Regions from separate parts of the Homo sapiens genome. Here region 1 is linked to region 2. Evidence: promoter capture Hi-C in human tissues and cell types (Jung and others, 2019). All regions are on one chromosome and are shown on one strand. Each heading gives the region's core, a stretch centred on a gene start or on the middle of the fragment in contact. The rest is flanking DNA. Distances are from core to core; before and after follow the strand shown. Region 1 overlaps ATRIP (ATR interacting protein). Region 2 holds the start of FBXW12 (F-box and WD repeat domain containing 12).

Region 1 (2,700 bases), core at 129-2,628, 87 kb before region 2:
GCTCCGCTGTGGCACACCAGGTGCTGAAGAATGCTAAGTGCAGTCACAGAGAAGCCTTCCAGGATGCACACTGAGTCCTCAGGGTTGGTCTCTACCCCAGAGCTCACGCAGGAGGAATGTGTCGGTGAGTCCCCAGGTGCTCCGCTTCTCTTAGCAGCTGCCAAGTCCTGCAGGGCCTGGCAGTGTAAGCCGATGAAGAACTGTACAAGGGGGAGGAAATGCACGGCTCCAGGAAGCTGGCAGAGTGGGAAGGCCCTTCTGCCTCCCTCTGCTGGGTCTCCATCACGTGAGCACTCATTCCGGGCAACCAGATTCAGTCCAGTGAATGCCAGGTTCTGTGCTTCTCTCAGGGCTGAGAGGGAAAATGACCCATCATAAGAACCTGTGGTCCTGAGGCCTGACATTCCAGCCAAGGTACTGGCAACAAACACAAAGAAAAATAGATTAAGTGTGGGATGGAGATAAGGTCAAGAGCCCCAAACAGCCTGCCTGCCAAATTCTCCAGGCTGCCTGCCCTTCCCACAGACTTCTCAGGCTGGCCAGGGCCAGAAAGGAATTTGCTTCCAGGAAGCTCCTTCCCAAACAAGCTTTCCAGGAGTCTTATGCTTACCTGCCAAACCCTGGTGGCTGCAGGGGGGTGCCAGCAGGAGACTCAGAACTACTACTCAGGAGGTGGCAAAGGCTTAGGGATGACCCTGGGATCAAAGGCTGCTTCAGGAGCAGGTTTATCAAAATGGAACCTGCAGAAGACAAGATGACTCTAGAAGGTTCTGACATGGGAGATCTTTTCGGTGGCTTTCAGAAGGAAACAGTAAGGATTCTTTGGATGCCAACTGTCCTCTAGGCTGCCACTAAGCCCCAGGAAGATGCCTGTGGGTGCGGAAGGCTCTGGGACATACCTGCCCTTGGCCCTTTCCACTTTATAAAGTCTTCTGCTTAAGCCACATACTTTGACTTCCCTGGACTCTCTGAAGGACTGCCCGGGGCACCGGTTCTCAGAGGCCTGGGCAATTCTTCTGCATATTACTCAGAGCCATGCAGGCCCCTGCAGGAGAAGCAGGGATTCTGGTACCTTGAGTGTTTGATCTCTGTCTCCAGCTGTCAACAAAGCTTTTCTGGGCCTCTTCTTGTTTTATGGAGTCACCTCTCAGACTGTGGGGCTTACTATCTGAAATGTGATAAAATGTAAATCAAAACTTGAGCCCAGAAGCATGGGCATATTAGAAACTTTTACATGCAATGAGTTTAAAACACACGCTGTTCTACTTCTTCGAACTTGGAACAAACAAGAGCCAAAGCGGCTCAAGAGCCCTGCATCTTTTACCTTCCTTATGTAAAACAGGAACTCATACAAGGAAAGGAAAAGAAAATCAAGCTGTTTGCCTCACTCAAAATGAGGCAATTAGATAAAACAGTGACCACTAACATTGACATGGTGCTTGTTACGTGCTAGACAGTGTTTTAAGAGCTCTATACGCATCAGCCCATTTGTTCCTCAGTGACCCTACAAGGATTTATCATTAGGTCTGTTTTACATATAGGGAAACTGAGGCACAGAGACTAAAGGACTTGCCCAAATCATATAAGCCAGTTAACAGCATTACTGGGACTCACATCCAGGCTACTGGGCTCTACTGCCTGCTTGTAACACTACTGTACACTGCCCCTTTAGCTGCTAGATGCCAAAAATGTAAGTGGGCTACAGTTTCTCAGAAGTGTTATGATGGCCAAGGATTTGAAAGGTTGATGGTAAGAAGAGGGTCAATGTATCCGATTTATAAGATACACTGACATAGCAGTCTGAAAACCTACTGATGTTAGATTGTCTCTCTCTAAAAAACAGCAGATCCCCTCAATCTGGACTGAGTTATAAAAACTCAAAAGCTGGACTACAAAAGGAAAACAGAGGCTGGGCACGGTGGCTCATGCCTGTAATCCCAGCATTTTGGGAGGCTGAAGTGGGTGGATCACGAGGTCATGAGATTGAGACCATCCAGGCCAACATGGTGAAACCTGTCTCTACTAAAAATACAAAAATTAGCTGGGTGTGGTGGCGCATGCCTGTAGTCCCAGCTACTCGGGAGGCTGAGGCAGGAGAATCGCTTGAACATGGGAGGCAGAGGTTACAGTGAGCCGAGATCACGCCACTGCACTCCAGCCTGGTGACAGAGTGAGACTCCGCCTCAAAGAAAAAAAAAAAAAACAAGAAAAGAAAAACAGATTCCTGCATACTAGCTAGGTTTTTGGCATGGTCAATTGATGCTGTGATGGTTTAAAAATATGCCCACAAGCATGATGGCAGGTGCCTGTAATCCCAGCTATTCGGGAGTCTGAGGCAGGAGAATCACTTGAACCCGGGAGGCGGAAGTTGCAGTGAGCTGAGATCGTGCCATTGCACTCCAGCCTGGGTGACAGGGTGAGACTCCGCCTCAAAAAAAAAAAAAAAAAGGCCCACAAATGCTTTGACACAACTCCCCTTCAAAAGGTATAAGCTTGGGAGGAGGGGGGAGGGATAGCATTAGGAGATATACCTAATGCTAAATGACGAGTTAATGGGTGCAACACACCAACATGGCACATGTATACATACGTAACACACCTGCACGTTGTGCACATGTACCCTAAAATTTAAAGTATAATAATAAAATAAAAATAAAAAATAAAAATTAAAAAAAAGGTATAAGCTTGGTTTCTCCCCTT
Region 2 (3,308 bases), core at 1-2,500:
TACTCACACTAACTTTCCTGTGTATATCTCACAACACAGCCACACAGGCCTTGGGACACAGCATGGGTGCGCAGTCAGATGATCTCCTCTCCCCTTCCCTCCTTGCCCTTTCCCTTCCCTTACCTCCACAGGTAATCACTGTCTGCAATCCTATTCCAATGCTATGGGAGAGAAAGGAAGAGACAAGCAGGCAATCAGTTACATCAGAGAGCAAGGGTAATCCTCTGCTATTATTTGTTCTGGGAGCTGGGCCCGCACAGGTTAATCAGATGGGATTCCAGCTCTCAAAGCACTCTCAGTGTGGGGAGATAAGGAAATGGTAACAACAGAGACCTATCACTGCTAATACAGGCACTGGGTATTCCCATGAATTCACAGGAAGAAGTGTTGATTTCCTAGGGCTTGAAATGGGAGCCTCAAGGACTGTTTAGTCAGCACAACTCCTGGATATCAGCTTGTCCTTTTCGTTTAACAGAATATGAGGCCCTCAGTATGAAGAATGCTAACCCCCAAAGCCTCAGTGTAACCCTCTGCTATTCTGCAAAGTGGTGCTCAAACTGGTCGAGAGAAGCAGCGGGCTTGGGGGGCAGTGGGAGGTGGAAGGCCTTTACCTTGTTCACCTGGGAAACCTGCAGCAAGCCGAACAGGTCCAGGAAAGAGAAGATTCGCTTCAAAGCTAAGTCAGGCAATCGGATCTCCATTTCATGCGGCCTGAACCCACATCCACTTTCCTTTCTCCTCTCCGGGCTGCTCTGAATTTATAGGCTTTGCCAAAGTCTGCAGCACTTGTAAAGATTTTCACCCATGCCCATCTGTGTGCGGTAGAAACAAGCTGCAGGTGTGCAGACTCCCGGGCTGACCTCCACCCCGGCCTCTCCCCTGGGGCCTGATCCACACAGCTGGCAGGCATCCCTACCTAAACCCACTTGTTAGTGCTGTTCATTGTTTAGAGGAGCTCAGCAACACCTGTGCGCTGTGAGCTGGAGGTGCAGAACCTGGGGCAGCCCCAGTTGCAGATGAAGTTGTCAGAACCCTTTAGGAAATGTCACCGAGTGCACTCACTTTGATCAGATCTGAGTGTCTCTATGACTCTATTTAAGTTCCAAACTCCTGGAATTGGAGTCTGCTTGCCCTGTGTCTGTGCCTACCTTGGGATCTTGAATCTGGTGAGTGGGGCTCATCTCTCAGCGCCAGCATGGCCTCTGGGTTTCTACCTTCTCGCATTTAACTTTGCAGTGGAGGAGAAAGAACGTGCCAAGCTGGCTTCTCCACAGAGGTCCGCCCAAAGGGAGCAGGCCTTGTCTGGGATGGCTCTCCCAGCTGGTGGCTTTCCCTGGGATGTGACGCTTTCCCACAGTTACAGATCTCCCAAGAACCTGACAACTCATTCTGGGATTTTCTAAAGACCGTGTCATAGCCTGGGTGTTTGTGTCCTCTCAAAATTCCTACGTTGAAATTCTAACCCTTGGTGTGATTGGAGGTGGGGGGCCTTTGGGAGGTAAGTGGGTCACAGGCAGAGTCCTTATGATGGGACCAGTGACCTTATAAAAGAGACCCCAGAACGCTCTCTAGCCCTGTTCATATCATGCGAGGACATGAGAAGGTGTCAGCTGCAACCTGGAAGAAGGCCCACACCAGAACCTGACCGTGCTGACAGGTGACTCTTGGACTTCTCTCCTCCAAAATTGTGAGAAATAAATTTGTTTGTAAGCCACCCAGTCTATGGTACTTTGCTGCAGCATAAGACAGGGGTCCCTCTGTGAGGCTCAGTGGCCAACCCTTCTTAAAACTGCTGCCTCCAGGCAGACACACGGGAGTGGTTGTCGGGAGTCCCATTTATGATACAGTAGTAAGAGAGAGGAAAAATACAAATTGACATGGTGAGGAAATAAAAAGGAAAAGCAAAGACCAAGAAGCACCTAGAGGGGCGTGGGGAAAGGCGAGTCAAGGGGTGTGTGGAGAGGAGTGAGAAAAATACAAGGGTAAAAGATTTGTATTCCATAAATAGGAAATAATGCAGAGAGAGCCAGAGCCGTGGAAGGACACAGGAAGACAGAAAGCTTGGAACGGACTCTATTGTAGAGGAACAGAATTAATGCAAAGATATAGAAGGCTGAGAAATAAAACACTTTAAAATATGACAAGGGAAGAGAAGAAACAGTAAAATAAAGGATATTTTAAAAGTATTAAAGCACAAATATTATAAAATACACAGATAGGAAATATAACTGTAAGTGGACTGAGACAGAGTAGGAATAAAATGGAAAAGAGGACAGATGAGAAAGAGGCAAACATAAGGAAACTGAAGCAAATTGCCGAATGAGTGAATGAATGAATTTGAAATAGAGGAACAGAGGCCAGGCACAGTGGCTCATGCCCGTAATCCCAGCACTTGGGGAGGCCGAGGCGGGTGGATCACCAGGTCAGGAGTTTGAGACCAGCTTGGCCAACATAGTGAAACCCTGTCTCTACTAAAAATACAACAAATTAGCTGGGCGTGGTGGCGGGTGCCTGTAATCCCAGCTACTTGGGAGGCTGAGGCAGGAGAATTGCTTGAAGCTGGGAGGTGGAGGTTGCAGTGAGCTGAGATTGCGCTACTGCACTCCAGCCTGGGCGACAGTGCGAGACTCCATCTCAACAACAACAACAAAAAAAATAGAGGAACAGGAAGGTGTGTTGGGGGGTGGTGGTGGCGGGGTGCTACCAGAAAAGCGGCAGAGAAAGACACATTGCAACAATAGATGAAGACAAATCTAAATGTCACAAGAGTTAAGAGATGTAAAATTTGAGAGATGTGAAATGGTAACTGCGTAATAGTCTAAGCAAAAGATAAGATGCAGGTGAGAGAATGGTCCGGACATTGTCTAGGAGAAAGTAGATTAAAGCAGGCAGCTGGGGAAACCTGAGAAGAGGGATCCATAAGGAGTTGGGCAGCCTGAGAGTAGGACAGAGAGGGAGGGACGACACAGCATGGGAAGTAAAGGGGGCGTAGCAAGGGGAGAAGTAACAGCACACCTTTCATGGCGCCTTCTGCAGGCAAGGCACCCGTCTAAACAATTTACAGGGGCTCATCTATTTAATCCTCACAACGGCTAGATGAGGTAAGTCCTATTACTGGCCACCTTGCCAGGGTGCTCCGTGTTCTCTTAGATTCTGAATTTGTCTGGCATCCATCACAGGGCCAGTTGTATTCTCTGTATATTTTTAATTTTCTGTATTCTTGATGCTCTGGCATTTGTGATCTTGCTGACTGGGGAGAGACTCTCCTTCCCAGGCCTAGCCAGATAGCAAAGGAGAGTGCCTTTTAT

The links. The method cuts DNA at HindIII sites, captures the fragments that hold promoters and counts their contacts. A contact is called where the count stands out against the background at its distance.
Region 1: a contact is called between a fragment that was not itself captured here and the fragment with the promoter of FBXW12 in region 2, in 7 of the 25 tissues and cell types used here (IMR-90 fibroblasts, aorta, heart left ventricle and 4 more).

Annotation. Positions count from the first base shown.
Region 1 is chr3:48,457,827-48,460,526 of GRCh38, reverse strand. It overlaps ATRIP (ATR interacting protein), which reads right to left. Exons shown (of 13, transcript NM_130384.3): 6 at 1,073-1,168; 7 at 611-740; 8 at 1-417. ATRIP-TREX1 (ATRIP-TREX1 readthrough) reads right to left here. Exons shown (of 15, transcript NR_153405.1): 6 at 1,073-1,168; 7 at 611-740; 8 at 1-417. Among named protein-coding and RNA genes, the nearest start is that of TREX1, 7.1 kb to the left of the region's middle. The HindIII fragment of the contact is 6,156 bases long and covers 1-2,700 here.
Region 2 is chr3:48,370,161-48,373,468 of GRCh38, reverse strand. FBXW12 (F-box and WD repeat domain containing 12) reads right to left here and starts at 1,250. Exons shown (of 11, transcript NM_207102.2): 1 at 1,149-1,250; 2 at 612-785; 3 at 124-161. The coding sequence starts at 701. The HindIII fragment of the contact is 16,322 bases long and covers 1-3,308 here.